6 separate regions of the Homo sapiens genome follow, and regions 2, 3, 4, 5 and 6 are each linked to region 1. Evidence: promoter capture Hi-C in human tissues and cell types (Jung and others, 2019). All regions are on one chromosome and are shown on one strand. The core of a region is centred on a gene start or on the middle of the fragment in contact, and the rest is flanking DNA. Distances in the headings are between cores, read along the strand shown.

Region 1 (3,614 bases), core at 46-2,545:
TTCAAAGACAATTCCACAGTCCAGGAACCCTATCCCCATATAACAGACCCAGGTCGCCCCAGTGGGGTCACCCTGGCCTCTGCGCTCAGATGCCTGAGACCTTGCCTGAGCTCAGACTGGAGTCGATGGGAGCATTCCCCCATCTGGTAGGTTTTGCAAACCACAACAGCCTCTCCCCCTGCCCACCTTCCTGTGTCCCCCAGAGCAGCTTCTCCTCAAGTCTCCCAACCCAGCAATGAAAGCCTCTTCTATATACTCCTAACTACCCAGGAGAAACATCGGTCCCCCACGCTCCACTTGCAAACAGACAGAATTAGACGATGTTACTCTGCCAAAGCGAATTTTCAGTTCACCCACTTCCTATCACACCTTCCAGCCAGGTCAAGCCAGAAGCCCCCTTCCAAGTATCCCCATCTCTCCTACCCACAGCGGCTACGGGATGTTCTTAAGACACAATCCGATCACGCCATGCACCTGCTGTTCCAAGCCTCCCTGGTCCCCACCGCCCCGAGAACGGGTTCCACACTCTCCTCGCCGCTTCCCAGGCCCCGGCCAACCTCTCTCCACCTCAGACCCTCCCTCTCCGCGTTTCAGCCAGGCTGGCCTCTTTTCTGCTCCGCACACACTCCCGGCTAGGCCCTGGGCCTAAAAAGCCCTCGCTGGCTGGTCCAACCAGGCCAAATGACATTATCCCCGCCTGGGCACCTCCACCTCACCCCGGCCGCCTGATGGGTTAGCTCGGGCTTGGAATGACGTGTTTAAGCGGTTCTCAGAAGCCGTCTACGCGGCCGGGCTGCGGACTCCGAGGCCAGGGCCCCAGCTGCGTCCCCAGCCCTGGCACGTCGGGGAAACGGGGCGCTCCCCCGGCTCACACATCCGGATTCCCCCGCGTCACGAGGCCAGGATCGCCCCTACTCGCTCCAGCCCGTTTCACAGCCGCGTCCTCGGGCACCCGTTGCGCCCCGGCCCTCGTGGGGGAGCGCGGATAGCTCGGGGAGACGGCCATGATGGGAAGCCCCGAGGGGGACAGTCCCCGGCGGGGTGATGGGGGCTGGAGCCCAGCTGCGAGTGGGGGCCGGGCTGGGGCCGCCATGGCCGCGGAGGCGGGGCCGGGGACCGCCGTGAGGGTGGCGTTCGGGGCGGTGTTCGCGGCGCGGGGTGCTCGCTTACCTGGGGGTGCAGGCGGCCGGGCGCACCGAGGGCCGGCGGCGGGGCTGGGGACGGCGCGCCTAGCGGGCTACCCGGAGCAGCTGCAGACACGCGCCGCCCGCCCCAGGCAGCCGGACTCTGCTCCTGGCCGGGCCTCGGCCCCCAGCAGGGGAAAAAAGGCTTGAGTGGGGGGAGCCCGGGGCGGGGCCGTGGGGGCGGGGCCTGGGCGGGGCACGCGCCCCGGAACGGTGGGGCCTGGCGCGGGGCTGGGGCCCTGGAGAGGCGGGGCCTGGCGCGGGGCGGGGGACTTGGAGGGGCAGGGCCTGGAGCGGGCGCCGGGTCCTCCAGGCGCTTGCCCCCCTCGACGCAACTAGGCCTCTCCCTGGCCCCCGACCCCGCACCCGCACCCCATCCCCGCCCCCGTCCCCGCCCCCCCATTCTCGCCCCCGCCCCCGTTCCCGCTCCGCCCATCTCTGCCCCGCGGCGCGCCTGGCCCGGGTCCAGCCTAGCGTTTCTAGTCTGCGCCTTATCTCTCCCCTTTGAACCCAGTATTGTCCGCTGCGCGCTCCGTCCGGCCCCGGCTTCACCCCTGTTCGCTGTCTGTCTCCCCGGCCCCCTCCCAGGTCCCCTCTTCTGCCCGAGATGCTCTGGCTCTGCTCATCTGTCCACACCCCCACACTCCCGGGGCGCCCTGAGCCTCTGGGGCGCGCAGTTGGATGGTGCACAGGGGAGGCCCAGATTTCTCCAGGCCTCAGCGGCCACCCTGGGTACCCCGAGTCTGGGGCCCTGTTGGAGGGCCAGTCCAGGGGTTCGCCCGAGGCGCGCGCGGGGGCCAACCGAGGCGGTGAGGGCACCGGGCAAAGGCTGCGATTTGGTGGGGTGCAGGGGTCAGGCGACAGAGCTGGGGAGATAAGATGGGAGATAGGCCGGGTGGGTGGTGGCGCAGCCCTGGTTTTGGCTGAGGGCAGCAGCAGTGGGGGCTGGGTCCCCCGCTTGCCTGGTAGAACCGAAAATGACCCAGTCTCAGCAGCGCGCAGGGGCAGGGAGCCTGGGCGATCCCTGAACAGAGGACAGCCCCAGGGGTTTTCATAGTCGCTGGCCCACCGCATGTACTCTGGGCAAGTGGCTTCGCCTTTGGACAATAAGCCTCTGTAAAATGGGGATAATAAACCTTTCTCTGACTCAGCTCAGCAGACCCAAGACCCATGGGGTGAAGTTGGGGCCTCCCTGCCACAGGGCCCTAGGCAAGCTGAGATTTGATTTCCTCACACAGACAGGGGCGCGGGGGGCGGGGCGGTCAGGGAGGCAGGAGACCTCTGTTGCAAGTGTGGAAGAACCTGTCCCTCCAAGTTCAGACTCCTGGCGTTTGCACTTGGCCTTCCCTCTGCTACACTGTTTCTCTTTTCTTTTTTCTTTTTCTTTTTTTTTTTTTGAGACGGAGTCTTGCATTGTGGCCCGGGCTGGACTGCAATGGCATGATCTCGGCTCACTGCAACTTCTGCATCCTGGTTTCATTCGATTCTCCTGCCTCAGCCTCCCGAGTAGCTAGGATTACAGGCGCCCACAACACCCGGCTAATTTATATATATATATATTTTTTTTTTTGGAGAGACGGGGGTTTCACAATGTTGGCCAGACTGATCTCAAACTCCTGACCTCGTGATCCACCAGCCTTGGCTTCCCAAAGTGCTGGGATTACAGGCGTGAGCCAGCATGCCCGACCTTCTCTTTTCTTTTTTTAAAAAAATCTGTTAGAGGCTGGGTGCGGTGGCTCACACCTGTAATCCCAGCACTTTGGGAGGCTGAGGCGGGTGGATCACCTGAGGTCAGGAGTTTGAGACCAGCCTGGCCAACGTGGCAAAATCCCATCTCTACTAAAAACACAAAAATTAGCCTGGAGTAGAATTACGTGAACCCAGGAGGCAGAGGTTGCAGTGCGTGGAGATCGTGCCACTGCACTCCAGCCTGGACAACAGAGTGAGACTCTATCAAAAAAAATTTCGTTAAAGATGGGAGTCTCACTCTGTTGCCCAGGCTAGAATGGAATGTCATGATCCCAGCTCATTGCAGCCTGGGACTCCAGGGCTCAAGCAGTCCTCTCACCTCAGCCTCCAGAGGAGCTAGGACTATAGATGCCTGCCACCATGCCCGGCTAATTTTTTTTTGTTTTAAATAAAAAAACTTTGGTAGGCAGGGTGTGGTGGCTCATGCCTGTAATCCCAGCACTTTGGGAGGCCGAGGCAGGTGGATCACGTGAGGTCAGGAGTTCGAGACCAGCCTGGCCAATATGGCGAAACCCCTTCTCTACTAAAAATACCAAAGTTAGCTGGGCATGGTGTTGCGCACCTGTAATCCCAGCTACTCGAGAGTCTGAGGCAGGAGAATCACTTGAACCCAGGAGGCGGAGGTTGCAGTGAGTCAAAATCGTGCCGCTGCACTCCAGCCTGGGTGACAGAGCAAGACTC
Region 2 (4,161 bases), core at 611-3,110, 160 kb after region 1:
AATGAGCCGAGGATGAGCTGATGAGATAGTGGAGGAAGCTGGGGTGCAATTCTCTGCCTAAATGGCCTTTGGAGTTCTCTGCAATCTCACCTCTGCCAGAACTAACCTCCAGAGGCCGAGTCTGAGTCCCTGCAGAGCCCAGCCCAGCAGGAGCAGGGAAAGGGAGGACTCGAGCCCTCCAGGTGTCTCCCAACCGCGGCCTCTGAGGGCAAGGGGCAGCGCATTCTGTTGGAACCTCGGACTGCAGTGCCAGGCAGGTAGTTCCCAAGGCTGGAGGCCAGGATCGAAGGGCTGGGCTGGGCCTGGCTCTGATAGCAAAACAATCAGACCACAGCCCAACCCCCTTCCCAGGCAAAGGCCAAGGACTTGGACCCATCAGACCCAGCCGAGGGGCAGGTGGGTCAGGTGGGGGCAGACAGGGAAGGAGGGTGGGACCCTGGGTCTGCCGCCCAGCCAGGGACCCTGCTTTGGCCAGCTGCTGAAACTCAGAGGATGTAGGACCCAGTGTCAGGGCTCCCGTGGGGACACCCCAGGCCCAGGAATTGTCCTTTGGCGACTGAAATCCTCAAGTGCTTGCTCTGCGGTAGGGAGTGGGGAAGAAGGAAAGAGTTCCCTATTAATAACAGGAACAGTTACTATTGCCGCCGCCAGACATGAGGCCTAGTCTTTTGCAGGCATGAGCTCACTGGACCCTCAAGTCAGAGCCATGCAGTGGGAATTTTAGATTCCCACTTTGCAGCTGAGGAAACGGAGGCTCCTAAAGGTTTAGGAAGCCGGGCACAGTGGCTCAAACCTGTAATCCTAGCACTTTGGGAGGCTGAGGCAGGCGGATCGCCTGAGATCAGGAGATCGAGACTACTCTGGCCAACATAGTGAAACCCCATCTCTACTAAAAAATACAAAAATTAGCCGGGCATGGTACACACGCCTGTAGTCCCAGCTACTTGGGAGGCTGAGGCAGAAGGATCGCTTGAGCCCAGGAGGCGGAGGTTGCAGTGAGCCAAGATCGCGCCACTGCACTCCAGCCAGGGTGACAGAGTGAGACTCTGTCTCAAAAAAAAAAAAAAAAAAATGGTTTAGGAGCAACTAACTCTCAGCTGGACTGCATGGAGGGACCAGGATGGGAATCCACTCTTGTCAGTCTCCAGGGCCCTGATCTCCAACCCCACCCCTGGCTCGGCAGGATTAGGATTCTACAATACATCCCTGGCAGTAACTGGCTTTGCCCACAGCTGGAAGCCACCCTCTGCTCCCTCACATCTTTAGGAGTCTTGCAAAAGACTCCATGGGGCTCTCGAAGAAGGAACTGGGGACTCTCCATCTCCCCGACCCCATCCCAAGAGCTAACCAAACACCAGGAGTTCCTGCATGTCAGGAGCGGGAGAATTCAGTGGAGATGGGATTGGGGAGACTTCCGGAGGAGATAAGAGACAAAAGGGGTGGGGTGGGGGCATGGGGAGAGGGGCACTTGGTGGTAGGCATTGCCGAACACAGTACCTTGGGTGTGGACAGCGGGGGCCCAGGCTCCCAGGAAGCCGGCCACCAGGCAGGCCAGGAGCCACAGGTTCATGCTGCAGGCGGGTCCTCCTCCCTGGGCACCTGGACGAATAACGGGGCCACCTGGGGTCGTGGAGGGAAGTGGTAAGGACTGAGGAAGAGGAGGGGAGTGGGTACTGGGAACATCCCCCCTCTTAAGCCCCAGGCATATGGCAAGGGAAGGAGGTTGTATAAAGTAGGAACAAGTTGTGCTGGAGGGAAAAGCTGTTCATCTCAGTCATGTTCAAGGAAAAGACTCACCGATATCCACTGGGTCAAGGGAGCTGATGCCCGCCGGGCTGTAGGCCAAGCTGTCCCATCTGCAGGACCAACACGCTGAGCTTCACTCTTTATAGACAGAGCCCCACCCAGCCACCCCCTGCCCGCCCTCCTCCCTTCCTCCTCCTCTCCACCTGCACTCTCAGCCTCTGGAATTCTCCCTCTTCTACAGCAAGCTCCAACCTCGACCCACAGGCCCCCTTGCCTCCCCACTCCCCATCCCAGGCCTCCCAGCCAGCACCCCTACTGTCTCCAGAAAGGGCCTTTTCCCCTGTTTCCCTCACCTGCACACACCTGGTGGACACTGGCTGCCTGCGAACAAGGCTCAGACTGCCTTGAGCCCCCAAACAAGCCCTTACCTTCATGCTCCCCCCGCCCTCAAGCCACCTGTTCCCTGGTGGGTCCCCAACTTCACTCCATTTCCCTCTCCTTCCACACCATGGTTAGGTAACTTAGCATGTCACAGAAATCCTCTGGTTGTGATCACAGGCAAATCCATAGAAACAGAAAGTAAATTAGCGGTGGCCACAGGATGGGGGGAGGGGAGAATGAAGGACTGACTGTGAGAGGGTATGGGTTTCCTTTTGTTCTGAAATTAGATGAGAGTGATGGTTACATAACTCTATGAATATAGTCAGCACGGCACAATGGTGCACCTCCCACCGGTGAACAACCCCAACAAGAAAGAAACTCTCTAGGCCAGGCATGGTGGCTCATGTCTGTAAGCCCAACACTTTGGGAGGCCGAGGCCAGAGGATTGCTTGAGCCCAGGAGCTCAAGACCACCCCGGGCAATATAGAGAGACCTGCGTCACTACAAAAATTTTTTAAAAAATTAGCCTGACGTAGTAGTGCATACCTGTAGTCCCAGCCACTCAGGAGGCTGAGGTGTGAGGATTGCTTGAGCCTTGGAGGTTGAGGCTGCAGTGAGCTGTGATCATGCCACTGCACTCCAGCCTGGGCAACAGAGCAAGACCCTGTCTCAAAAAATGGAAAAAAAAACGGTGGCCGGACACAGTGGCTCACACCTGTAATACCAGCACTTTGGGAGGCCGAGGCAGGCGGATCCTCTGAGGTCAGGAGTTCGAGACCAGCCTGGCCAACATGGCAAAACCCCATCTCTACTAAAATTACAAAAATTAGCCGAGTGTGGTGGGGGGGCACCTGTAATTCCAGCTACTCAGGAGGCTGAGGCAGGAGAATCGCTTGAACCCGGGAGGCGGAGGTTGCAGTGAGCCGAGATTGGGCCACTGCATTCCAGCCTGGGCGACAAGAGTGAAACTCTGTCTCAAAAAAAAAAAAAAAAAAAAAAACAAAAGAAAAAGAAAAAATGGAAGAAATGTTTTGTTTTTGGAAGAAAAGCCAGGAGCCCCGGGTAGCCATGCCCTCAGGAAGCAAAGCAACATTCACCGAGAAGGCATGTCTTTTTTTTTTTTCTTCTGAGACGGAGTCTTGCTCTTTTGCCCAGGCTGGAGTGCGGTGGCGCTGTCTCGGCTCACTGCAAGCTCCGTCTCCCGGGTTCACGCCATTCTCCTGCCTCAGCCTCCCGAGTAGCTGGGACTACAGGCTCCCGCCACCACGCCTGGCTAATTTTTTGTATTTTTAGTAGAGACGGGGTTTCACCATGTTAGCCAGGATGGGAGAAGGCATGTCTTCTTTCCCTGGGGCAGCAGGACCCAGCCAGGACACAGGGACTGGGGGAGACACGAGGTGAAGATTAGGGAGGGCGAAAGGAGCGCTGCAGAGGCCGCACAGCTGATTGCTTTAAACTTTTTATCGCCTGCATCCATAGCTACATCTGACCTCTGTGGGTATTTATCACATCCTAAACTCCTTTCTCATTTCTCCCCTTCCACTGGGAGCCCAGAGGCGGCGGCCCCTAGCCTACTTCCCTGTCCCAAACCACATGGCCGGGTGAGTGGGGCTTAGAGGTGGGGCCGGGCCTGGTGGGTGTGGCTTCTAGCCGGGGACGTGACTAGATAAATGACACTTAGAGCCCAGGGGCAGGGCTGGGTGGGCGTGGCTTATGGCTATGGGCGGGGCTTGCTATATGGCTCCGAGTCAGGGGCAGGGCAGAGTGAGTGGGATTTAAGACAGTGGGCGGAGCCTGACAGATGGCGCTTATGGTAAGGGGCCGGGCTTTGTAGGAGGGGCTTAGACTGGGGCGGGGCTTGCACGGTCAGCCCCGCCCCACCAGAGCAGTTAAGACGCGTCGGGGGCAGGTGCTCTCACCCGTCCCGTTGCTGCGGCCAGTGGCAGCCCACGGGCCGGGGCGCTGTTCCAGTTCCTCCGCCTCTTGCTCTGGGTGGGTGAGGCTGGACCAGGACGCGGCTCCGCGTGGCTGCGA
Region 3 (4,158 bases), core at 469-2,968, 250 kb before region 1:
GGGGCAAACTGAAAAATGATCACAGCCAAGGGACAGTTGTACAAAGCGGCTTTATTTAACCCTTAAAAAGTAAAGCAGTTCCAAAAATGCAGCCGCCCTGAGGCCATGTTAAAAAGCCATTTGTTTCAAGAGCAGCAGCCATTCAAGGACCACCAACCCTTGTCTCCACTTTGATGAAAATGCCACATAGTGTCAAAATAGTGACTGAAGAGGCCCCAAGTTGATTTCCTACCAGCTATGACTACCACCTAATAACCTTTAAAAAATAAAAGACTCACAATAATTAATTCAAAACAGCTGCAACCATGTTGCCGAAATTCAAGTCCCAGTTGCATGGGAAGTTTCTAGTCTGTGTCCATAAGACGCTTGGATCAAAAAGCTGTAATTGCAACCCAGAAACCAAGCAAATCCAAACCAAACTTTTTCCCATGGCCATAACCACTTTAACAAAAAGAGAGGTTTAGAAATTAGGACTTTTTCCACGTAACAGTCTAGTCTAGAAATAGCACACCTGACTCAATCCTTTGTATTAAAAATTTGCTTAAAACGTTCTCCCTCTTTTTACCTCAAGTGGTATCATCATTTAGCAGTCACCCGGGGGTCCAGCATGAGTAGTGCTGTCCCTGAGATCATCAGTAATGCCCATCCTCCTCACAAACTCATAAAATTCCAACCTCTACCCTGAGAGACCATCCATTAAGTGTTAAGGGATCTGCAATAGCTGCTAATTCATACTTTCCTATAGGAAAATGGAGCCTTTAAAAGACCACCTCCCTTTTGGTTCTACAATAGCAAAGCAAAGATTTATTTTATGTAGTCAGTACAACTATCGACAAGAATGTGAGGGCAAAATTTGTCAAGTAAACAGTCTGGTCACATTCCATGAAGTGAAGTTTAACGAGCAAACCATCCAGAGCAGATCACACAGTCAGGACTCAGGGGTAGAGGTGACAGCTTGGCAGTAGCAGCAGTCTTACAGAAACGGCACTCACAGTTATTAATAAAAAATACGGTTGCTCCTCCCCCTGTGTAAACATGGATGGAATTCATGGAATCCCAAGAGTAGGCTGCTAAGACAAATTCTACTGCAGCTTAAAACATCAAAATATTGAAAAAACTAAGACATTAAAAAATCTAACACCAACTGTTATCTACCTCTATTTAAAATGCTCTAAGAAATCATTTTTGACCAACATTTAAGTGAATTATTAAAAAGACTGCCTTATTCTTAAAACACATCAGGAGGATAAGCAGATGAGCAACCCAAAAAGAACTCAGGCGGTCCCTGGGAGCTACTGTGACCTCACTCTCCTGCACAGACCTTTAGCCAAATGAGTATTTGTTTTTGTGTTCCCATTTACTGCTCAAGTCTGAAAAAGAAAAAAAGAGGGAATACAGTGCCGAAGCTTCACTGAAGAGAATTCACATGTTATAAGACCTATATATTTTTTTTTAACAGGAGTTGGGGGGACTTGAAAGTCAGGCATGTTGTCAAACATTCTTCATCTCATAACGGTCAATTCTCAGGCTGCCACTCTATTGGGCGAGGGGAGTGCACAGAACACATGCACACTCTTTAATATAAAGACACCTTGAAACATGGCAAAATAATTATTCTACACACCTACTTGGCTTATGGACATGTTAGGAAATGACTGAGCCCACGCTCCTCAATTGCGTGGCAATAACAGAACGTTACTGCTTCCCTAACACCAGAGACCACACGGGGTAAGCCAGACAGGCTGCACTGCTGGGGCTCAACCTAAGTATTCATACATATGAACGCTTTAGCATAACAGGCCTTTCTAAAATGCAGGCTGCGGCCAGGCCTGTAATCCTAGCACTTTGGAAGGCCAAGGCAGGCAGATTACCTGAGGTCAGGAGTTCAAGACCAGCCTGGCCAACATGGTGAAAGCCCATCTCTTACTAAAAATACAAAAATTAACTCGGCGTGGTGGTGGGTGCCTAATCCCGGCTACTTGGGAGGCTGGGGCAAGAGAATCACTTGAACCCAGGGGGCAGAGGTTGCAGATCACACCACTTCATTCCAGCCTGGGCAAAAGAGCAAGACTCCATCTCAAAAACAAAATAAATAAAATACAGGCTGCATTTCCAACAGAGGAAAATATGAAGAAGCAAGTAGACTGGGTAGGAATATCATTTAAATTGAAAATACAGTTCTGCCTAATAGACCCACAATGCAAATTATCTCCAGGAGCCAAGATGGAGGTTTTCTACTGGACTACACTTGCCCTCTGGGCCTTAGTTTTCTGTCAGATGCAATTTGAAATTTACTTAAAGTGGTGTATTATACTAACAGAAGGATTAAGTGCTTAAAAGAAATCTTTGCTTACACAAGTTGAACTGACTGCTGCTAAACTTCGGATCGACTGAGGGTAAACTACATCCCTGACCTTCCTTTCTTCCTCAACCTGGGCTCTATTTACTCACTGCAGGTGCAGCTCAGTCCTGCTCTGGTGGCACTGCCCCACCTGGGTGCTGCCGGCTGCCTGGTGAGGTCAAGAGAAGCAGCCCAGCAAGGAGCTTCCTCCACTCATACAGGACTTGGTCTCAAACAAATGTAGCACGACACTAAGTTTAAAAGCCTAAGATCGCCTTTTCTCACAGAAATCTTTATTTTTTCCACCCAGTCCTTATGGTCAATCACTTTAAGATGTGTATCCCTTTACCTGTCAGGATACAACCTGGGGAGCTGTGGCCTGTTAAGTCACTTTCAAAGGCATAAATGACCAGTTTACTTCCTATGTGGATTTTTAATAGGAAATGCTAGAATGCTGCTAAATGCTAAAATTAAAGCTGGAGAATATGCAGCTGGTATGAAAGATGGGGAAGAGGATCAAGAGTGAGGGAGGAGCATGTGAGACAATCTCCCCCCGGAGTATCCTTAGAAAAAAAGCTCCCCTCTTGGGCCTCTCAAAGCTAGCTACTTTAGTTCTGAGAGGCTGCAATTAGATAGTGCTATAATGACAGAAAATTTCAGTTGAGGACAACTAATTCCAGTTCTTGTTCTACTCATTTCCTGAAACAAGGCTAAGATTCATCAGACCTTAAAACACAGACTGATAAAGAGTGCTTAGGTTACAACAGCCCAGATCTCTGTGTTTTGGAATTGAGACTAATACTTTTAGGGTTGTAAGTGCCTCTATCTGCCAGTTCTTCCTATGTATAAAGTCTTCAAAACACTTAAAACTTATGCGCAACAAATTTCAAGTAAATATTTCAGATTTAAACTAACCACTTAAACATTTTTTGTACACCAAAACGGGAATAAAAACGTCTTTTTGAAAGCACGTAATAAGAAGAGTATTTCTTAAGAAGTCATATGTATGTAAACACAGTAAATTTCTTTAGACCTCACATACTGAATATAAGCATTATCATAAAAAGATTACCTTTCTGAGTCACTTTACCCACAATCCTATACCGCTAATAATTTAATTAAACAGCAAAGTAATTAATTTAACCAGTACAGGGGAGCTCTAAACAAGAACATTTTAAGGCTCATTAAAAATAACTGATTTACTGCACACCTGTAATTCTAAATTACACCACCAAAAATACACTGAGAGGGCTGAGCCCAGGCATTCGTAGCAGTATGCCAGGGGAATATGAGAACCAGTTTGGAAGTATCCCAATCAACCACCAGGCTGGCTCCACACTTAAGAGTGCAAAATAGTGAATTGAGGTGAACTGCTTCTACATCCAGAAACACCATGGCTGCTGCTGCTACTACCAGCTTTAAGGTTTCCCAAACCGAATTACTGAATGGTAAAGCAGTAAAAATGTCACCTACTTCATCCAGCATGTCCCAAAACTGGTTCACACACTCCTAAAAATGAAAAAATAATTTGGCCTGCAATCTCTTACAAAATTCTAACAATTGCATTTTCAAAGCCACATTCCTGGTTCTTGGAACTACTATACCTTATTATCAATGGAAATAGCAATTCAGCGGTTCAACCAAATCACGAGAACACAAATTTGGAGGTTATTCCAAAAGCTAATTCGAATGAGGCCCAACTGTACTGTACAGAAATTCTAAGCTTCTATTGAAGCAGCAGTCCCAAAAACCAAGAACACTGCATCTGGGATGCAGCATGACACACCCTCAGACAAAAAGAAGAAACTGCACTCTTG
Region 4 (3,886 bases), core at 1,331-3,830, 180 kb after region 1:
ATCTTGGCCAGGATGGTCTCGATCTCTTGACCTTGTGATCCGCTCGCCTTGGCCTCCCAAAGTGCTGGGATTACAGGCGTGAGCCACCGCGCCCAGCCCCAGCTAATTTTTTTATTTTTTTTTGTAGAGACTGTGTCTTGCTATGTTGTCCAGGCTGGTCTCTAACTCCTAGGCTCAAGTGATCCTCCCTCCTCGGCGTCCCAAAATGTTGGGATTACAGGTGTAAGCCACCATATCTGGCCAAAGGGGCTTTATTTTACCTACCACAGCATCCGTGGGGGCCAAAATCATAAGATGGGGGGCCCACAGGACACTTCCTGAGGGAGGTGATGTGTGGGTTTAGTTCTGGAAGATTGCAGGGCTGGTGGGGGATTGTGCTATGCGGGAAGAGGATTCCAGGCTGAGAGAACAGAGTCCATAGAACAGCAGGATCCTAAATATCTACCCCAGACGCCACCTGGAAGCTCTGTTTGGGAAAGTACAGTTCTCATCTGGGGTCGATTTTTCCCCAGGGGACACCTGGCCCGTGCCTGGAGAGAGATTTGGCTGTCACCACTGGGAGGCTGGGGGGGCGGTGGGCTGCCAGAGAGCTGCTAAATAATCTAGACTGCACAGGACCGCCCCCTACCAGGAAGAATCAGCCAGCCCGCAGAGTAGCTTAGAGGGCGAGAATCCCTCTGTCCTCATCCCTCCGGACTCAGAGGGGCTTTCCACCAGGGGCAGCTGGAAGGGTTTATTGGGTGACCTTTGGCCTTTCTAACCCTGCCCCCCGCCCCCCACCCTGTCTCCCGCCTTTCTTGGGAAAAGCTGATTTTAGTTCCTGGTGACCCTTGGCCTCCTCAGGGAACACAAGCATTTGTGTGGGCTGATGGTTTCTACCTCTGGAATGTGACTGCTCCGCCTGGCCTGGGCCCTGGAGGACGAGGGATCTAAGAATAGTGACGTTTTTCCCCCCACCCCTAGGCCTGGCCCACTCTGGCCTCCAGATCCCAGGCCCCTCACTGTGCTGGAAGAGGTGGTCAGGCAGACAATGTCCGAGGGAAACGTCTGGAGCCTGTGCTGGTCACTGGGCCGGGGAATGAGCTGGTTCATTCATGGGGCACGGGGCAGAGGTGATGGATCTGCGGAGGAGGGGCTTGGTTGGGGTGGTGGGTCTGCACCTTGTCAGCACCCCACACCCCCCAACCCCAGGCCTGCCCTGTTTTCCCTACAGCTCCTTGTCCCTGCTGCCTCTGAAGGACTTACGTCACTGATCCCCTCAATGGCCACCCCTTGGAGTCGGCAGGTTCTCCTTGGGCTGAAGCAGGAGTCGGGTGCCTCTCTTGCCTACTGGAAAAGGGACCCCAAGCTTGGGAGGTCTGATCCAGTGGGGCAGGGGCCCTGGTGCCAATGCCGGAGAGGAACTGGTCCCTGGGGGCCTCATGTCCACTGGGATGTCATAAACCCACCTGGTGTCCTCAAGACGGGCCCTCGAAGGCAGGGCTCACTGCTTGTTCATTTGGTCTGAAAGCCTTGGCTGCCTCATGGGTGCCAGGCCCCCCATGCTGGGCACTGGGGATGCCAAGGGGGACAGATCCCCGCCTCCTTCCTGAAGGAGCCTGCATTGACCCAGGAGAGCAGGGCTCACATTTGCTGATGTCTCAGTCAAGAGCCAGGCCCTGCACTGGATGCAGGAGCTGTGGTTGAGGGCAAAACAGCTGTGTTTCTGGGGGACAGTGTAGGGAGATGTCAGCCACAGGAAGGAAAGGCAGTGGGGATCTGGGTAAATAAAACCCCAGGGGCTGGGTGCAGTGGCTCATGTCTGTAATCCCAGCACTTTGGGAGGCCGAGGCAGGTGGATCACTGGAGGTCAGGAGTTCAAGACCAGCCTGGCCAACATAATGAATCCCCGTCTCCACTAAAAAAAAAAAAAAAAAAAAAAAAAAAAAAAATCAAAAATTAGCCGGATGCGGTGGCACATGCCTATAATCCCAGCTACTCAGGAGACTGAGGCAGGAGAATTGCTTGAATCTGGGAGGCAGAGGTTGCAGTGAGCTGAGAATGTGCCACTGCACTCCATCCTGGGTGACACAGCAAGCCTCTGTCACTAAAAACAGACAAACAAACCTGGGTGCAATGGTATAAAGAGGAGGACGAGGAAGGCCAGTGTGTGTCCAGGGAAGCCCCTGTACCCTGGAGGGTGGAGGCTAGTTTCAGGGTTTGGCCGTCCCTCCCACGCAGGCCCACCCAGTCCTGGCTCCTGCCTTCTACCTGCTGTGGCTGCAACTGCTCTGGCCAGCCAGGTGACTTCCATGTGACCCCTCCCCAAGCCTGAGCCCCCGATGTATGAAACCCGGTACTCCCACCCAGGCTCCAGGCCAGCCCCATCCGCCAGAGAATGGGGTGTCCAAACCCCAGAATCCTGGCTCCTTGACCTGTGGAAGACCTGGCAAGGAATGAGTGTGGGTAACAAGGGCCACCTGAGGTCCTCTGCGCACCCTGCTGAAACCCCGTGGGCTGTAGCACAGTCATGCGTCCCCTGGGGTGCACCCCAGTAAGAGAGAAGTACATCAGGTGCTGAATGGGAATGAGGATGGAACAAAGATGAAAGACCAGTGAGACTGGGCGATGGCTCATGCCTGTAATCTCAGCACTTTGGGAGGCTGAGGCGGGCGGATCACTGTTGCCCAAGAGTTCAAGACCAGCCCGGGCAACATGGCAAAACCCTGTCTCTACTAAAAATACAAAAAGTAGCTGGGCGTGCTGACACATGCCTGTAATCCCAGCTACTCAGGAGGCTGAGGCATGAGAATCGCTTGAACCTGGGAAGCGGAGGTTGCAGTGAGCCGAGATCGTGCCATTACACTCCAGCCCAGCCTAGGCGACAGAGCAAGACTGTTTCCAAAGAAAAGACCAATACATCCCTTTCCCCAGCCTCAGTTCCTTCCTCTCCCACCAGAATCTGAAGCCACTGCTTTAACTGCACCATTGAGAATGTCCCTATCTCCCCCAAATTTAAGCTTCTTAAGCCTCAGACCCTTGATTGGATGGAGTACCCACAGATGCCACCATGAACCCACGATCTCCCACCCAGCTGGGCTCCTCCCTGCCCCCAGAGCAGCCCCTTGCTGTAAAATGGGGTGAACAGAACTGAACAGGCTGTTACCATGAGGATTTGAGGGCATCAGTACAGCGCTTGGCCCAGGGCCCGGGAGCCACTACCACTCTACAGAGTCACAGGCCTCCTGACCATAACTCCTATGGGTGCGTGATTTACCGGGCCAGCCTGCGTGCTGGGCGTTTAGGTAGTTTCCAACCAGAAGGTAACTTATTAAAGAGCCTAAGACACGTCCTTCTGCAGGCAGCCCTTCCACAAGTGGCTTGGGGTAATTTTCAGTGGTATAATCACAAGCTCAGACTACGAACCCTCTTTTTTTTTTTTTTTTTTTTTTTTGAGATGGAGTCTCGTTCTGTTGTCCAGGCTGGAGCGCAATGGCGCAATTGGCTCACTGCAACCTCCGCCTCCCAGGTTCAAGTGATTCTCATGCCTCAGCCTCTCCAGTAGCCAGGATTACAGGCGTGCACCACCATGCCCGGCTAATTACTGTATTTTTACAGAGCTACTGAGCTCGAACTCCTGACCTCAGGTGATCTGTATTTTTAGAGAGCTACTGAGCTTGAACTCCCAACCTCAGGTGATCTGCCTGTCTCAGCCTCCCAAAGTGCTGGGATTACAGGTGTGAGCCACTGGGCCCGACCTTTTTTTTTTTTATCCATAGAGACAGGATCTTGCTATGTTGCCCCGGCTGGTCTTGAACTCCCAGACTGAAGCAATTCTCCTCCTGCCTCAGCCTCCCAAAGTGCTGGGATTACAGGTGTGAGCCACCACGCCTGGCCTATGAACCCT
Region 5 (3,897 bases), core at 411-2,910, 250 kb after region 1:
CAGTCCCGGGCTCTGCCGAGTGGTCCTGGGAATGGCGGCGGGCCCGTCCAGCGTGGGCCACCACTGGGGCCGGGGGCCACGGGCTGCATGCTGGGCGGGCCCTCCAGAGAAGGACACAAACGTGTTTCGTAAGCCCAGGCACCAATGGGAATGGACCAAAGAGTTTCAGGGAAACTCCAGTATATTCCAGAGTCAGATCTAAGCTCCAGGCACGCCTGAAGATGTGTTGCTACTCTGACATCCCGAGTTTCTGTCCACACATTGCATGCACAGCGCCCCACACATTGGATACTGTTGTTCACGATAATTTCTCCCGTTTTCCAGAGCATTTAACATAGCTTGGAGGCGTAAAATGGCTCTGTATTTTAATAACACAGAAACATTTGAGCATTGTATTTCTCGCATCCCTTCTCGTGAGCGCTTAGACCTTTTTCTATTTTAGTCGGATTTTGTTTTGGAATTTTGCTTTTGTATGAACACTCAGCAGAAAAGTACTTACTTCTTGCCAGTTATCTATTAACCAAAACCTTTGATTTGTAGTTTTAAAGATTAACCCTCAAAGTTCTCTTCATAACTGCCTTGACATTTTGGGTTGTTCTGTTCTGTTAATTTTCTTTTGCTTTTTTGTGTTTTTTGTTTGTTTTTACTTTTGCATTTAAGACCATTAAATTTGATTTTGTTTTGCTCGAATTTTGTTTTGTTTTTTATTTTACCTTTTCTTTCTTTTTGGCTAGGGAAGGTGCAGGTGGCCCAGCATTCAGGGAGGAGTCGTAAGATCTTAAGAAACCAATCCTTGCCTCAAGCAAAAGCATTTCTGAATCTGTGACGCAAGAATGTGCAGTTACAGGCTGGTGGCTTTTAAACCAGGAGCCCGGAGGAAGGGTGAAAGAGAAAGCCTGTGAAATAGGCAGGGCCAGATCACCCAAAACTCCTCAGGACTGGGATCTGGCGTTTATAAATAACTAGTTTACAGAGAGAATCACAAACAGGATAACTTAGTACCAGCAGTTTTTAACCTTGACGTGAGACTAAAACGTGACCGTAGGCTGTTTTTTAGTTATTGCTCTCATGAGATGATGGCTGTATTTATCTGTTTATTTATACCTATTTATGTATTTATTTATTGAAGTGTGAAATTGAGCAATAGGCAGGCACCACCGTCCCCAGAGCAGGTCAGCGTCTCGAGAGGCCCCTGGACAATTGAGGATGCCCATCCCCTCCCCTTTCCCTGATCTTTTACTGAGGGGCTGTGTGCGCGATCCTTGCAAATTGATGATGTTGCCATCCGTACCCAGGCTGTGTCTCATAAAAGTCGGCCTGGTGCCAGAGAGGACCTCCTTTCTCCCACAGAATCCCAGATCCTCAGGAAAAGCCAAAACCGAGGCCCATTGCCCGGATTCGACACAAAAGAGGGTCCCTGCTCTGTTGCCCGAGAGCAGTCTGCATCCTGGGACCAGAATGCTTTCCTGGAAAAAGAAGCCTTTCAGGTTTCCCTGGGCCAGCATCTTCTGATGGAAGGTGGGAGCCAACACCCTTCTGATGGAAGGTGGGAGCCAACACCCTTCTGATGGAAGGTGGGAGCCAACACCCTTCTGATGGAAGGTGGGAGCCAACACCCTTCTGATGGAAGGTGGGAGCCAACACCCTTCTGATGGAAGGCGGGATTCCCGCTTCTGAAACTCCCCCTGGAGTCTCACTCCCACACATGCCCATAGCTAGCATTCAACAGAGAACTCTGTCTTAAGCTTCAACTGTGAAAATGATGACGGGCTTGTAGCACCTCAGCTTCTTTCCTCGCCCCCTTTTATCTGAATCCTATCAATTATTCTGATGCTGGGACAGGTGAGAAGAAACTGTGAAGTATATGAGCCTTTGAAAGTTCCCTGAAGTTTCTCAGTTCAGGAACATTCTCATTGTATGTGGTCTCCGCTGTTTGAACAGCCTTCTAGCTAAAAAATTCCAAAGCCTTTATTTGGGAGTCTTAGCTTGCAAGCTTGTGGAAGGATTTAGCTTAACAACTGTCACTCCTGAAAAGCAATCTCTGTTCCATCAAGGTTCTAGTTGCTGGCCCTGTGTCCTCAAAGTTCATTACATCTTATCAAGGCCTGTTTGCAAAGGGGAGATCCCTTTTCTTAAAAAAGGCTCAACCCAAAAGAAACCATTTCTTAAAAAATTTTACATAGATCAGTTGTATTTCTATTTAGCAAAAATGAGTGCTCTGCTTTTATTTGGGAATTTCGATGAAAAAGCGTTCAGAGTAGATAATGTTCATTTATCAAAAATCTGGTTTGGGAAATACCAAAGAGGCTTTGATTGAATTCCCTTTTGACCCGTGTGTAACTTCCTCTGGTAGTTAGACCCCAGGCAGCTCCGAATTTGTGAACCTGCTTCCTGATGAATTCTCCCTTGTTCCCCCTTGGCTCTGCCATTATTTCGTTTTCAGTGTAATTTGCCAAGCCGCAGTTTTCTGTGCTGGCTGTGCCTCTAGTCGCAGCTCTGTGACTGATTCCCTCCCGGGTGCTGAGTCCCCTCCCCGGCCACCATCCTGCGTGAATATCCTGAAATTCATGGGCTTCCTCGGGGGCCCGCCCGCAGGTGGTGCTGGGTGGGTTCCGCCACCTTCTCCTGGAAGGTGAGCCTTTTCCTGGCCAAGGGCAGCTGCCTTAACCTCTGAGAGTCTGCGCTTGGCCTTAGTCCTGGAGACCCAGCCTCCAGGGACTGAACCGTGCTGCTGTTGGGAGCCAAGACCGGCCCTTTGGAGCCGGCAGCCCAGGGGTCCCTGCTGGATCAGAGAAATAGAAGCACCCGAAGACGGTTAGTGGCAATTCCTTGACCCGGTTTGCTTCCAAATGAAGGCCATTTGTCCACCAGGCATTGAAAAGACATGACTTACCCAGTCCGGCATCGGACTTGAAAAATCGAAATTGACATCACTCAGCTGTTACATTTCACATCCGATTCAGCCCCCTTTTATTTCCATGTGCTTTTCGCAGCCTTCCTGTGTTGGATGAAAGAGAATAAGAATTCAGCTGACAGGAGGCCTCTATCCTGTCCCTCCACCCCACCCTCCACCTCAATCCCCTCCCATCTTCCCCAGACCTACCTCACCTACTAGGACCTGAGGCAGCTCCTTAGCAGAGACCCCTGGGGTTTAGCTGACTCTGGGGGTCAGGGGTTCCTGTCCCCAAACTTCGCAAGACAGCCCTGAAGTCACAAGTGCTTTCTTTTAAGTGGCATTGGCAATTGGCGTGTAATGATGGCAGTAGAATCTGAATCTCGGATCCCAGGCAGGGTTCACATTTCCAAACCTTTTTGATTTCCCCTGACCTCTAATGGCTGGATCCTATTTTTCTACAACCTTTCAGTGACATCGTTCAGGTTTCTTTCTTGGCCATTTAAAAAAACAAATTTTTTTTTTCTCACTTGTAAGTCACCGCCAGTACCTAAGTTAGGCTAACGGAGACTTTGACAGGACTGGATTTTTCTTCCACCAGAAGAGAAGCCTTTTCCGTTGGTTTGGGGCCACCTCTTTGACCATGACCATGTGATGTTCCGTTTACAGTGACTTGCTTTGGGGGAGGGGAGGCTCTCTTAACCGATTCCCATGTTGTACAGTAGATGGTTAGACCTTTTGTATATTAGTGTGTTTTAAGTTATTGATTTGTTTTATATAAAATAATTTATTTTTCAGGTGCCATTTTTCATTTTAACTTTGTTTTTACATGGGTTTGTTTTCAATAAAGTCTGACACTGGTGTCCAAAAGTCAACAATAAAATGAATCCCATTGTGTTCTTTTGAAGATGCCTATGTAACTTTTAAGCTTTTTAAATTATTTTCAGAAAAAAAAAAAGAAAAGCCCTTATCAGTTTTCCATCAGCCCATTGCCTTTTTATTTT
Region 6 (3,949 bases), core at 1,146-3,645, 140 kb after region 1:
GGTGCTCCTGGAGTTCCTGAACCTGCCTTGTCTCTAGGAATCTCAGGGATCTTCAACACACCACTCAGTAGCCGTAGGGCAGGCCTATGGCTCCATCCCTCCTTCCCTCTCGGGCCACCCCATCAAGGTGTGCAGAGAGGGCATTTTTGCCACAGATGCCAGCTGCTTGCCCCTCAACTGAAGAGTCCCTGACTATGGGTCAGTCCTGCAGCCATCACCCAAGGGATCTGAAAGCCAAAAATGTATTAAACACCTGCTGTATGCAGGTATCACTCCAAGTGCTCTCTGTTCACAGCCTCTCAATGTTTATGACAACCCTGGGAGGTGTAGATGCCACTATTTTTTTTTTTTTTTTTTGAGACAGAGTCTCACTCTTGTTGCCCAGGCTGGAATGCAATGGCGTGATCTCGGCTGACCGCAATCTCTGCCTCTTGGGTTCAGGCGATTCTCCTGCCTCAGCCGCCCGAGTAGCTGGGATTACAGGCGTGCACCACCACGCCCAGCTAATTCTGTATTTTTAGTAGAGACGGGGTTTCTTCATGTTGGTCAGGCTGGTCTTGAACTCCTGACCTCAGGTGATCCACCCGGCTCGGCCTCCCAAAGTGCTGGGATTACAGGCATGAAGCACTGCACCCAGCCTAGATGCCACTATTATCCCTATTTTACAGATGGAGGAACTGAGGCTCTGAGAGGTTAGGGCACATGCCCAAGTTACAGAACTTGAACGTGGTGGTTCAGAGATTCCATGGATATGGCACGTGGACTTCTCTTTACAAGCAGCCTTGGCATCCATGGCCAGCCATCCTGGGCCCCTCTGTCTTCCGAAGCCATCACTTTACATTGTTTCCCAAACAATTATCACTGAGCATGGAAACCATTACCCCAAACTCACCCCCACTGCAGACATTTAGGTCGAAGCTTCTTCACTCCACAGATTTTACTGAATACCACTGCTGGGCACTGTAATGGAGCAACAGTGAACAACAACAACAACAAAAACACCTGCCCTCGTGAGGCTGATATTCTAAAAGGGAGACACACAAGAAATCAACATGTAAAACATATCATCTTTTATAACACATGACAAATATGATACATGATAAGTGCTATGGGGAAAAACAAAGTGAGACATGGGATAGGGTTATTGGGCTTGAGAGGCTTTCTATATTAGATAAAATGTGAGTGTATTACTTTGTATTACTGAAAGGCCCTTTTTCCCCTCTAGTTATTTTTTCCCCCTTGCTAGGAAAAACTGTGGATGTATATATTATCCCATAGTTACTGATATTTTCTGTAAACTTCATAAGGGTAGAGCTGTGTCTGTAGGATTTACTACTGTATTGGTACCCCTTGGTACTCAATAAGAGTGAGTGAGTGGTTGTCAGGGTCCCAGGGCAGAAGTAGATCAAGACAGAGAAGGGCTAATTTTTGTATTTTTAGTAGAGATGGGGTTTCGCCATGTTGGCCAGGCTGGTCTCAAACTCCTGGCCTCAAGTGATCAGCCCACCTCAGACTCCCAGAGTGCTGGGATTACAGGTGTGTGCCACTGTGCCCAGTCAAGGCCAGGATTTTGAGACCAGCCCGGGTAACATAGTGAGACCCCCTCCACCTACAAAAAGTAAAAATATTAGCCAGCTGTGGTGCCATGTGCCTGTAGTCCCAGCTACTTGGGAGGCTGAGGCGGGAGGATTGCTTGAACCCAGGAGTTCAAAGCGGCAGAGAGCTGTGATCACACCTCTGCACTCCAGCCTGGGTGACAGACAGACCCTGTCTCAAAAATAGGGCTGTATTGTGCCTTTGCCTGCAATACCCACTGACTGCCAGCAGGGGTCAGTAAGAGCATAAGTCTTAACAACATTCCGTGGGAAGAAGGCCTGAGATCTCCAGAACTGAGGGGCTGGGGAACAGGAATAACTTTCACTTGAATGCAACAGCAAAACACTCCGTCGGCATGTAAATGAGGCCAAACCAACACAGTGCTCCCTAAAACAAAGGCAAAGAAAACACAGATGACTTTCTGTGGGGTTGGATACGTCACCCAGCCCTGGGGTAGCCTGCCATTGAGGCTCGCTGTCTTATTCAGGGCCCTGTCCAGCTGCCAAGACCAGGAAGGCACTTCAGAGGAGCTTAAATAAAGAAGGGTTTGTCATTGGCACACAAGGGGCTCTCAAAGAGGGCCAGATGCAGGAAGCACAGCGGAAGCTATCAGGCGGCTCTTCTGTCTGGTCCTTTACGCTCTCCTCTCCAGCCCTGCTTGGCATCCCGTTTCTCTCACTGTCAGCTCTGGCATTCTTTTAGGGGCTGGCTTCTGCTGAAAGGCCCTTGTTCCTAACACCAGCCATCCCAAGACATTTCTGAGTGACCTTAGGGCTCTGGGTCGCAATGTCATCTGAATAATCCCCTGGCTGCTGGGTCTCTGAGAGCAAATCTTTGATACCTTTGGCCCAGGCTGGCAGGGGTCTGAGCAAGGTCCCTCAGCTGGGACTAGGGGTCTGTAGTGTGTAACAGTGGCCGTTTCCCTGCCTCTCTCAGAAGCAGCCTCAGCCTTATGCCACTGAGTCTACAGATCCAGCTGACCTTGCGGATGAACAACCAGACTTGAGATGCCAAGGGAAGCAGTATTTTCCTCCACTTTATTTTTTTATTGATTTATTATTTATTTATTTATTTATTTATTTGAGACAAGGTCTCACTCTGTCACCCAGGCTGGAATGCAGTGGCGCAATCATAGCTCACTGCAGCCTTGAACTCCTGGGCTCAAGCAATCCTCCCGCCTCAATCCCCCAAGTAGCTGAGACCACAGGTACATGTACCACCACACCTGCCCAGCTAATTTTTGTATTTTTTGTAGAGACGGGGTTCACCATGTTGCCCAGGCTGGTCTCAAACTCCTGGGCTCAAGTGATCCACCCACTTCAGCTTCCCAAAGTGCTGGGAGTACAGGCATGAGCCACCGTGCCCACCCTATTTATTGATTTTTTTTTTTTTTGAGACGGAGTCTTGCTCTGTCGCCCAGGCTGGAGTGCAGCAGCGTGATCTCCACTCACTGCAAGCTCCGCCTCCTGGGTTCATGCCATTCTCCTGGCTCAGCCTCTGGAGTAGCTGGGACTACAGGCACCTGACACTACGCCTAGCTAATTTTTTTTTTTGTATTTTTAGTAGAGATGGGGTTTCACCTTGTTAGCCAGGATGGTCTCAATCTCCTGACCTCGTGATCCACCTGCCTGAGCCTCCCAAAGTGCTGGGATTACAGGTGTGAGCCACTGCGCCCAGCCTATTTATTGATTTTTAAAATCAATTTATTTTCTTTTTTTTGGGGAGCAGGGTCTCACTCTGTCACCCAGGCTAGAATGCAGCAGTGCAATCATAGCTCACTGCAGCTTGAACTCCCAGGCTCAAGGGATCCTCCCACCTCAGCCTCCCTAGTAGCTGGGACTACAGGTGTGCAACACCACACCTGGTTAATTTCTTGTATTTTTAGTAGAGACAGAGTTTCACCAGGTTACTCAGGCTGGTCTCGAACTCCTGGGCTCAAGCAATCTGTCCACCTTGGCCCTCAGCCAACTTCATGTCTTTTCGTAGCACATCTTGTCACTTTTACATTTTCCATTTATTTGTCTACTATCTGCTTTGCTTTACTAGAAGGTAAACTCCCTGAGGGGAAGGATTTTTATCTGCTCATTGCTAAATCCCCAGTGCCTCAAAGATTGCCAGGAATTCAGTAGGTGCCTAATAAACATATATATATTTTTGAGACAGGGTCTCAGTCTGTTACCCAGGCTGGAGTGCAGAGGTGTGATCACAGCTCACTGCTGCTTCGAACTCCTGGGACCTCCCACATCAGCCTCCTAAGTAGCTGGGACTACAGGTGCACACCAGTACTAATATTTTCACTTCTTGTGGGTGGATGAGGTCTCACTATGTTGCCCATGCTGACCTCAAAATCCTG

The links. Contacts are between HindIII fragments. The study calls those that stand out against the background at their distance.
Region 2: a contact is called between the fragment with the promoter of CCL25 here and the fragment with the promoter of CERS4 in region 1, in 3 of the 25 tissues and cell types used here (dorsolateral prefrontal cortex, mesenchymal stem cells and spleen).
Region 3: a contact is called between a fragment that was not itself captured here and the fragment with the promoter of CERS4 in region 1, in 2 of the 25 tissues and cell types used here (dorsolateral prefrontal cortex and liver).
Region 4: a contact is called between a fragment that was not itself captured here and the fragment with the promoter of CERS4 in region 1, in 3 of the 25 tissues and cell types used here (H1 embryonic stem cells, mesenchymal stem cells and spleen).
Region 5: a fragment that was not itself captured here is called in contact with the fragment with the promoter of CERS4 in region 1 in 5 of the 25 tissues and cell types used here (H1 embryonic stem cells, dorsolateral prefrontal cortex, hippocampus and 2 more).
Region 6: a fragment that was not itself captured here is called in contact with the fragment with the promoter of CERS4 in region 1 in 1 of the 25 tissues and cell types used here (spleen).

The regions. Positions count from the first base shown.
Region 1 is chr19:8,207,051-8,210,664 of GRCh38, reverse strand. CERS4 (ceramide synthase 4) reads right to left here and starts at 1,295. Exons shown (of 12, transcript NM_024552.3): 1 at 1,171-1,295. RefSeq lists a silencer at 695-1,614. The HindIII fragment of the contact is 7,028 bases long and covers 1-3,614 here.
Region 2 is chr19:8,050,459-8,054,619 of GRCh38, reverse strand. It overlaps CCL25 (C-C motif chemokine ligand 25), which reads right to left and starts at 1,860. Exons shown (of 6, transcript NM_005624.4): 1 at 1,798-1,860; 2 at 1,498-1,620. The coding sequence starts at 1,570. RefSeq lists a silencer at 3,858-3,917. The HindIII fragment of the contact is 31,009 bases long and covers 1-4,161 here.
Region 3 is chr19:8,456,876-8,461,033 of GRCh38, reverse strand. All of the region lies in intron 2 of HNRNPM (heterogeneous nuclear ribonucleoprotein M), which reads right to left. Among named protein-coding and RNA genes, the nearest start is that of HNRNPM, 14 kb to the right of the region's middle. The HindIII fragment of the contact is 5,699 bases long and covers 1-4,158 here.
Region 4 is chr19:8,026,099-8,029,984 of GRCh38, reverse strand. No RefSeq gene overlaps it. Among named protein-coding and RNA genes, the nearest start is that of ELAVL1, 22 kb to the right of the region's middle. RefSeq lists an enhancer at 1-816. The HindIII fragment of the contact is 5,079 bases long and covers 41-3,886 here.
Region 5 is chr19:7,959,066-7,962,962 of GRCh38, reverse strand. It overlaps ELAVL1 (ELAV like RNA binding protein 1), which reads left to right. Exons shown (of 6, transcript NM_001419.3): 6 at 1-3,897. Among named protein-coding and RNA genes, the nearest start is that of TIMM44, 17 kb to the right of the region's middle. The HindIII fragment of the contact is 4,499 bases long and covers 1-3,897 here.
Region 6 is chr19:8,067,431-8,071,379 of GRCh38, reverse strand. All of the region lies in intron 63 of FBN3 (fibrillin 3), which reads left to right. Among named protein-coding and RNA genes, the nearest start is that of CCL25, 17 kb to the right of the region's middle. The HindIII fragment of the contact is 6,042 bases long and covers 1-3,949 here.